Linked DNA regions of Homo sapiens: region 1 is linked to region 2. The links are contacts of gene promoters, found by promoter capture Hi-C in blood cells and fetal thymus (Javierre and others, 2016). All regions are on one chromosome and are shown on one strand. The core of a region is centred on a gene start or on the middle of the fragment in contact, and the rest is flanking DNA. Distances in the headings are between cores, read along the strand shown.

Region 1 (5,033 bases), core at 1,512-4,011, 290 kb before region 2:
GCTATCTCATCAAGTTCCTCATCCCAGACCCATGATGTCTAAGTCCTTGGCCTGTCTTTAGCCATATCTTTGATGTCTCCTTTCAATAATTTTCCATCCACTGGCCCTGCACGCTGCTCCTTGCTATAAATCCTCATTTGTCCTTCCTGTATTCACAGTTGAGCCCCATCTTTCTCCCCTATTGCAATAGTCTTGAATAAAGTCTTCCTTACTGTTTTAACAAGGGGACAAAATAATTTTTTTCCTTAACAGTTAATTTATATCAACTGGGCTTTTTTTTCTTTTTTCTTTTTTGGAATGAGGAGGCCCAGACCCCACCTAAGACCAATAGAATCAGAATCTTGGGGATAGTTCTAATGTGGACCCAGGGTTGAGAGCCACTGGCCCAGACATTTGGCATAAATCTCCTTTGTGATGGAGAATCTGAGAGCTGGGCTGACTTTCAGACTGGACGACCCTGTAAATTCTTACCAACTAGGTTGGCCTTCATTCCTTCCCTATTATCAGTGTAGTAGTCCATTTTCATTCTGCTGATGAAGACATACCCAAGACTGGTTAAGTTATAAGAAAAAGAGGTTTCATGGAATCGCAGTTCCACATGGCTGGGGAGGCCTCACAATCATGGCAGAAGGTGAAAAGCACAGCTTACATGGCCACAGGCAAGAGAGAGAATGAAAGCCAAGCGAAAGGAACTTCCCATTATAAAAGCACCAGATCTCATAAGACTTATTCCCTACCATGAGAACAGTATGGGGGAATCTGACACCATGATTGAATCTCCCACCGAGTCCCTCCCACAACACGTGGGAATTACGAGAGCTACAGTTTAAGGTGAGATTTGGATGGGGACACAGCCAAACCATAGTTATCAGCCTATCCCCACTTGAAACAGGCTCCTTCACCCAGCTACAACAGGCTGCATCTCCTGAAATGCACCATGCTCTGTGTTTCCTTCATACATTTGCTCACACCACCTCCTTTCCCTAGAATGACTGCTCCATGCTCCCTACCACATGGGAAAAAATTACTTCTAATTAAGACCTCAGTTCAAGCACCCCTTTCTCTAGGTTGTCTGCCCCAATTCTTTCCAAGGATACAATGATCTCTTTCTCCTTCTGTCCCCACTGCCTCATCAATAAGACACCATCACATCATCCTCCATATCACACCTGAGACATCGATTGCCCCTGTGTTCAAACCTGACTTTGTATAGAGCAAACCACAGCATAGCTGAGTTAACTAAAACCAGAAACACAGCTCCCCACCAGACAACCTGGCTAAGGGCATGGTAGGACTTAATATTTATGTGAATGGATTTTCAAAAATCACTCATCTAAAATTAATACCAACAACATGAGAAGATAATAACAAAAGCTTTCATCAGATGAAATGAAGCTTATTATTTCTGCCAGGAAACTGCAAACTTGGGTAAAGCTCTATATTGAACACATAAATTGTTGTTGATATCATCAAATATTAGGAATCCTACAACATGGAGCATTAGGTTTAGAGTCCAAAAAACCTGAACTATAAATGAACTCCGCAGTTTTCTAAATGCATAACTTTGTGAAAGATAATCTCTCTGAGCCTCAGTTTTCTCATCTATAAAATGGGGATTATAACACTTCACTCACTTCCTCCAATAGGTTGTTTTAATCATTAAATAAAATAACTCATAACAAAGCATATTTTATTTAACTCCAAAGCCCTCTACAAATGTAAGAAAGACTTTTAATATTTTTCCTAATTACTCATGTTTTTCTTTTTCTTAATTAGTATCAACAGTTTTACATTCATATGAAACAGATTGAGATGTCCATTCAGGAATAATTAAGAAGAAAGGTTTATTTTAGAAGGACTGTAGGATGTTGTTAGAGGAAGAGCATTTTTTTTCTTTTCTTTCTTTTTTTTCTTTTTAAGGAAAAAATATGCAAATTGCTTTTTCTTGCTAAGGTTCTTCCATACAAACTGTAATAAAAATATCTTGCACCTAAACAATAGTTATATTTAAATTATAAATAATAACTAAGAGGAAAGAATAACTAAAGAGAGTAAGCAAGGGAACTAATGTGTTTGATTCTCTTACTTCCTTGTTCATCATCTCTCTGGGTATAAGGCAATCTTTTCTTTTCAACAAACAAGGGATGCGTGTTCACATACATGCAGTGCATATGTAGATGCATGTGAATGTTTATATGAGTGCTTTTTTCTTCTAGTCTTTGCTTGATTGGTTGGTTTGTCTGGGGTGGAAGTAAATTTTATTTTTGACAATGTAGTACATGCATAAAGCCTAGAAAGACTGTCAGTACTACAAGAACTCTGCTTCACAATTCTCTCTGAAGTTAGACTAGGGGCTCCAGGGGACATAGACTGGTTCCAGATGACAATTCTAGAATTCACAGAGCTAGCAAGGGAGATAGCTACCTTTTTTTGAAGTATTCTTGAGCAGAAAGGAGTTTTAAAGATCATCTTTTCCAACCCTGTGTATTTCCTCATTTTATAGATAAGGAAATAAAAAATGACCAGAGAGGAAGAGTGACTTACCTAAGATCACACAACTATTATTTTTACAAGCCTTTCCTAAGCATCTACCATATGCAAGACAATATTCTATTGAGGTGGCTCCAAGAAAAATAAAGCACAGTCTCAGCCAGGCACCATGGTTCATGCCTGTAATCCCAGGACTTTGGGAGGCTGAGGCAGGTGGATCACCTGAGGTCAGGAGTTCGAAACCAGCCTGGCCAACAAGGTGAAAACCCTACTCTACTAAAAATACAAAAACTTAGCTGGGCATGGTGGCAGGCACTTTCAATTTCAGCTACTCAGGAGGCTGAGGCAGGAGAATCACTTGAACCTGGGAGGTGATGGTTGCAGTAAGCTGAGATCACGCCATTGCACTCCAGCCTGGGCAACAAGAGAGAAACTCTGTCAAAAAAAAAAAAAAAAAAACCTCTGTACTCAAAGAGTTGTTAGTCTAATAAAGCAGCATGTAAGTGTCCTATGACACAAGGCAGGATAAAATCAGAGCTAAAAAGAAGTGCTTAAGAACCCTGAAAGAACTGAAAATAATTTCTGATTGGGAAACTAGAAAGAGTTTCACAAAGAACTAGCTTCTGAGCTGGGTATTAAGGATAGAAGGATCCAGGTCATGTAGTTCTATACACGTAGCTCCTATACTGGGATATTTTTCATTGTCACCCGCTGTCTCAGGGTACCCCTCTTGGAAAACCACAGCAAAATACCAGCCCCAAAAAAGATTAGGGCACAAAAGGAAACTGAGAAGAAATACAAGTGGGAAAGGACAAGTAGAAAGCAGTCGCCTTGAGAATGAAAGGGAACATCCTTAGAAGAAAACACAGCGCACCTGCTTGTATATAGCATCAATTAAAATGCAAAAAGCAAATCAAAGAGTGAGTATTCCCTGATCATGCTACAAAGTTAAAACAAGTCAGTAGGATTATTCAACAGATGATTATTGGTGCACTAACCTTCTTACATGTACAAAATATAGACTAGATCCATACTTCACTTGGAGCAAGGCAGGGGAGATTAGATAAGAGAAGAAAGAAAAGCAATTTTAAACCAGAGTCCCAAATGTATAGAGGCTAGAATAAATGCCACTGTGCAGACTGGAAATGCTAAGCCTCATCACAGGAAGCCAGGTCAGTGCAGAAACAGTAGTCTGAGAAATTAACCAACATGGATGTCATCACCCTAAGTGATTATTAAAGACATGGGGTGGTGAGACGACACAGCAAGAGAGTGCAGGGTGAGAGAGGAGCTTGAGCCAATATTCTGGAAAATTCCAACCTTTCAAGGACAGGGTGTAGCAATGAAGAGTCAGTGGTAACTTGAGTGATTACAATTTCATGGTGCAATGGGAGTGCAGGGCAGGACACAGTGGGTTGAGGTAGGTGCAAAACAAGGAATTATCCTTAAACCTGTACTCCAGCTACTTCTATAGAAGGCAGAAGCTATTCTACTGTCTTGCAAGCAAGAGTGCAGAATGATTAGATGCTGGGGCACATACTACACAGCAGGACAATGGAAGCTCCCTCCACCCAAAGGGGAAAATCTCTCAGACAGCTCTTGAAAAATGTTTCATCCCAAGCTATAGAACTTCACTGCAAGCTTCATTCCCCACTCCATTCCCAACCACACACCCAGAAATAAAACATTTGATTAGGAGACCAAATATCCCAGTTTACACCTGTTGTCCTAGCATAATAATTGATGGCTGGTGTCATCCCCTTCTACTCCCAAAAGTATCCCAGTTTGGAAAGTAGACTAGTGGTTGCCAAGAGTTAGGAATGGTGGGGGAAGAGTGGGTAGACATGACCATAAAGGGCTAGGTAGCAAGAGGGAGATCATTGCCTAAGTGATGGAATAATTCTGTATCTAGATTACATAAATCTGCACATGTGATCGATGACATAGAACAATGCACACACATTGTTCCCATGTCAGTTTTCCGGTTTTGATGTTGTACCCTAGGTATGTCAAATGTAATCACTGGGGGAAACTGGGTGAATGGTACATGTATCTTCTTTGTACTATCTTTGCAACTCCTGTGAATCTATAATTATTTAAAGGGCTTATTTTAAAAAAAGAAAAAACAGCTCCAGCAGCATTCACTGAGTGCTGGATCAGGACTTTGCAGACCTAAGGAGATTTGTGCAGCCAGTATTTGCTTGGATCCGTACAGTTGCTAATAGAAACATAGATTGCTGTTGCTGTAGACATGATGTTGGGGAAGACCCTGTTCTTTGAAGTTTGGAATTACAAGACAGAGAGGCCAAGAATTCTCTGTAACTCTTTTATTAGCTCTGATGCAAGAAAGAAACTGTTCCGGCATGAAGCAGCAGGGAGAGATGTAGCATGTGGAAATGGATCAGTGCATGCCTCAGAACCAGCTCAAAGACAGCAAAGGAGATCAGGAAGGAGGACAAAGACATCCCCTGTCTATCAGTTTCATCAATGTTCAGGAAAGGAGAGAATTAGAAGCAAACACCAAGCCCACATCATAGTACAGC
Region 2 (4,652 bases), core at 1,127-3,626:
TGAAGGATAAGGCCAGGCTCAGTGGCTCACGCCTCTAATCCCAGCACTTTGGGAGGCTGAGGCGGGTGGATCACCTGAGGTCAGGAGTTCAAGACCAGTCTGGCCAACATGGCGAAACCCCGTCTCTACTAAAATACAAAAATTAGCTGGGCATGGTGGTGTGCACCTGTAATTCCAGCTACTTGGGAGGCTGAGACAGGAGAACTGCTTGAACCCAGGAGACAGAGGTTGCAGTGAACCAAGATTGCGCCATATACACTCCAGCCTGGGCAACAGAGCGAGACTCCGTCTCCAAAAAAAAGAAAGAAAGAAAGAAAAATGAAGGATAAGGGATAAGGGAGTGGAGTGAAGGACGGGCTATTTTATGTACGGCCATCAGAGAAGGCCTTGTCAACAAGACGGCATTTGGGCAGAGATCTGAAGAAGGTTAGGAGGTAAACAACTGAGCCACGGTTATCTTCCTCAGGCAGAGAAACAACATGTGCAAAGGCCCTGAGGAGAGATCCAGATAAGCACTGAAGTAACAGCAAGGATCTCATTGTGGAGCCTAAGGTACAAGTTGGAGAGTAGTAGGAGATGAGGTCAGAGAAGCAGCAGGGGCCTTGCAGGCCACTGAAAGGACTTGGATTTTACTCATTAAGAAGACATGGTAGGATTCTGGACAGAGGAAAGACAGGACTTGATGTAGGTTTTAAAAGGATCACTCTAGCTGTCTAGAGAAAAGATGGAAAGGAACCAGATTGCAGTGATAATGGCTTGCAATGGAGAATGAAAAGGGATTGTATTCTGGATATATGTCTCAAGTAGAGTCAATAGGATTTGCTGACAGATTGTGGGGTGTGAGAAAAACAAGAAAAATAAAAGATGACTCCGACAATTAACTTCAGCTCCTCTAATAACGGAGTTGCTATTCACTTCTAAGGCAAAGGGGGAAAGGGGATTCAGTTTTGGACACGTTAAGATGAAGATGACTCTTAGTCATCCAAGTCGTGATTTCAAGTAACTGCTGGATGCACAAATCTGGAAATAGGGAGACAGATCTGGACTGAAGATATTTATATTTATATTTCAGAATCTCCAGTTTATAGAAAGTATGTAAAGCCCTGAGGCTGAATGAATGAGACCACCTAAAGCTAGGGAGAGTCTATAGAAAAGGTCCTATAACTGATTCCCAAGGCACATCCTAACATTTAAAAGTCAGGAAGATAAGGAACCAGCAAAGGAAACCAAGAAGTAACACCCAGTGAAGACAGGGAAAGACAAGAAAATGTTATCCATAGGCCAAGTAAAGGGCTGAAATTAATGCCAGATCTTGCTATCTGACCTGCCACTGATTGAAGTTTTAAATCAGAAATTGGTGAATACAGATAACCTTCAGAAAACTGGCACTCTCTTGACAGAAATGTTACTCTGGACTGTTTCCTTCATGCTTAAGAAAATAACAAGGCCTTCCATTTCTGGACAAATGTACTCTTTGCCCATTCCTTCGTACATTCTATTACTACGTGGGGGACACTAAATTAGGTCTAGAGGGAAATGCAGAACAATACACTCGTTCTTTGTATCTCTGACTTTAAATCACTCCTATAGGAAAACCAAAACAAAAAAACTCCATAAACGTGAAAGGAACTCAGCTATAAGTTGGTGAAGTTGACACCTACAGGCCACCCACGTGGGTGACAGAGGGAGGTCAGAGGGCAATGCTCCAGGCGGACCTAATCGCCAGCGTCCAACAGATTGACAACTACCAACGACTAATCTCACTGCTTCCTTCACTGAGTGCGAAGAGCGGGAAGCACAATCTCACTATACCAGTGAAGTCAACCCCTCCCCACCAGGCCAGCCCACAACTCCAGCTATCCAGCACCCCGCTCCAGATCCCAGAGCCTCCCCGGGCCCAAAGGACCCCGCCCTAAACCGCCGGCGCCGGACCCACTACAAATCCCAGCAGGCACCGCGCGCCCGCAACATGCCAGCCTACGCTTAGCCGCCGCTGGGCCTCCTGGGGCCTGTAGTCTCCACGCCCCCCGTCTCCGGTAAGTACCTGAAAGCGATAAAGGAAGGCTTCGGGCCAGAGGAAGAGGTAGGCCGGGCTGATGAGGCCGAGTTTGCCGACCAAGGGCACGGCGACGGTGGCGGCGAACCAATAGCGCGTGATCGCCGGGATGCTCCTGAACCAGTCTCCGATGTCCGACATCTTCGACCCACAGGTAGCCAAGATGCACAAGACCGCCCGACTCCCCGTGCCGACCCCCTCACGACGCGGCCGGCTCCGCGACTGTTAGGTGTCTAGGTGGAAGCCGCCGAAGCCGCGATGCAGAAGGCGGAGACGGGCGGACGTGGCGCCACCGAATTCGGACCAGCGAGGCAGCCTTCTGAGGCGAAACTTCCCCTTCCGGCGACCGCGGACGACGTGACCAGAAGTCCCGCCGCTTAAAGGGTAAGCGCCGATTTTACCGCCCGGCCGAGGCTCGGCGTCCTGGGGGGCGGAGCCAGGTAGAGCGACTACACGACTGGTGGGAAAACAGTGGTTGCCTGGATCAACGGCAAACGCTCCGGCCAGTGGCGAGGCCAAATGCCATTCACCTAGTTCTCAGAGTTTTAATGCGGCTGGGTCCACCTGGAGGGTATTTAAAGGGGACGAAGGCAAACGAAGTGTCTAGTTCCTCGTCTGCTTACTCATTCCACAAGTGTTTGTTGGGCACAGTTCTAGACACTGGGCAGCTGCGGCTGTCAGCGCTGTCGTGGTACCCTCTCTCCTGATCTTAACATCCTCATTGGGATAATTTATAAACAAATAGATAATGAAGTAAGATAATCTCAGAGAGTGATTAGAAAAATAGGAAAATGAAATGAGATGATGAGGTGGAGTGACGGGGTGGGGGTGCGGCAGTGTGAGGACAGATGGCTACCTTAGGTATGAACTGGGCCAGCCAGGCAAGAGATCTGGGGGAAGAATTTTCCATGCACAGAGAAAAGCCGCTCTAACTAGGTTGGAATGTTGGAGGAACTAAAAGCCAAAATGATCCATCTTGTCTAATTCAACTTGTATAAGAAGGAATCTTTAAGAAAAGATACTGGCCAGGCGCGGTGGCTCACGCCTGTAATCCCAGCACTTTGGGAGGCCGAGGCGGGCGGATCACGAGGTCAGGAGTTCGAGACCAGCCTGGCCAACATGATGAAACCCCGTCTCTACTAAAAATACAAAAATTAGCCGGGCATGGTGGAGGGCGCCTGTAGTCCCAGCTACTTGGGAGGCTGAGGCAGGAGAATCGCTTGAACCCGGGAGGTGGAGGTTACAGCGAGCCGAGATTGCACCATTGCACTCCAGCCTGGGGGACAAGAGCCAGACTCCATCTCAAAAAAAAGAAAAAAAGAAAAGATACTGAGTAGAGTTTCCCGTTGTTTTGGGATTTGGGGCCAGCAGTTTAAGATTGCTAAAGTCTTCCAATAAAGAGCACCAGGAACAAACCTGTAGTCAACAAAGTTAGATTTATTAACTTGCTGCAGCAAGGGAGACTGCACTCCAGAGGAACCTCAATGCCTCTCATCAAACGGAAGTGTCATTATTGGGTTATGGGAATGGGGGGATTTTTTGGTAAGAATTAACTGGAGCAGTGTTTGATAGACTCGAAGCAAAGCAGAGCTGTGTGCAGCATCAGGTTAACATCAGACCTGAGTAGGAAGCAGGCTCTTTCCTTGGAAATCTCAAAATTACGACAAATGTGAAACGTTGGGTCTGAAAACTCTATCTAAAGCTTTGTACCTGTATTGAAAATCCTGTGTCAAAGTGACCTGTATGGCTCAGATGCTCTGGACAAGAATGGGATGTTCCATTCACACGGAAAGGATGTCAGACAGCAGAGTTTCCAACATTCCATAATTTTAGAGAATATTTGTCAGCACCATATCCTTGATGTTAATTAATAAAAACAGTTTTTTCATAACAAAAAGGCATTAAATATTCCACAGTGTAATGAGAGTATACAACATTTGGGAACCAATGGATAGCAAATCTACGAAGAACACAGCTGGTGGGAATATAAATTGATACAGCCTTACAAAAAGATAATTTTGATATAAAAGCTAGATATTTATATAAATAACAGATAATACTTGACGATATTGCCTGAGGTTTATTCTGTTTATTTCCCTCTACTACCACCACCATTGTTTTGTACCCACTACTCATAACCAAGGTACAGTGAAAGAAAACAGGGGTTATCTGGCTTAGGTGGAGGGCTAAGGAAAGTTTCTCTGATAAACTTAAAAGTACACGTGCATGAGAAAAGACAAGAACAAGAAAAATGTACACCCAATATCTGGCAGTGTTTATTTCTTTTTTTTTTTTTTTTTTGAGACGGAGTCTTGCTCTGTCGCCCAGGCTGGAGTGCAGTGGCGGGATCTCGGCTCACTGCAAGCTCCGCCTCCCGGGTTCAAGCGATTCTGCTGCCACAGCCTCCCGAGTAGCTGAGACTACAGGCGTCCGCCAGCACGCCCGGCTAATTTTTTGTATTTTTAGTAGAGACGGGGTTTCACCGTGTTAGCCAAGATGGTCTCAATCTCCTGACCTCATGATCTGCCCGCCTCGGCCTCACAAAGTGCTGGGATTACAGGCGTGAGCCACCGCGCCCGGCCTGGCAGTGTTTATT

What was found. Contacts are between HindIII fragments. The CHiCAGO score rates a contact against its expected background, and 5 or more counts as called.
Region 1: a contact is called between a fragment that was not itself captured here and the fragment with the promoter of DERL1 in region 2, in 14 of 17 cell types (neutrophils, total CD4 T cells, M2 macrophages and 11 more). The highest score is 8.7, in neutrophils.

The regions. Positions count from the first base shown.
Region 1 is chr8:122,748,210-122,753,242 of GRCh38, forward strand. No RefSeq gene overlaps it. Among named protein-coding and RNA genes, the nearest start is that of ZHX2-AS1, 31 kb to the right of the region's middle. The HindIII fragment of the contact is 2,736 bases long and covers 1,394-4,129 here.
Region 2 is chr8:123,039,926-123,044,577 of GRCh38, forward strand. DERL1 (derlin 1) reads right to left here and starts at 2,377. Exons shown (of 8, transcript NM_024295.6): 1 at 2,045-2,377. The coding sequence starts at 2,197. RefSeq lists an enhancer at 1,787-2,326. The HindIII fragment of the contact is 6,787 bases long and covers 1-3,756 here.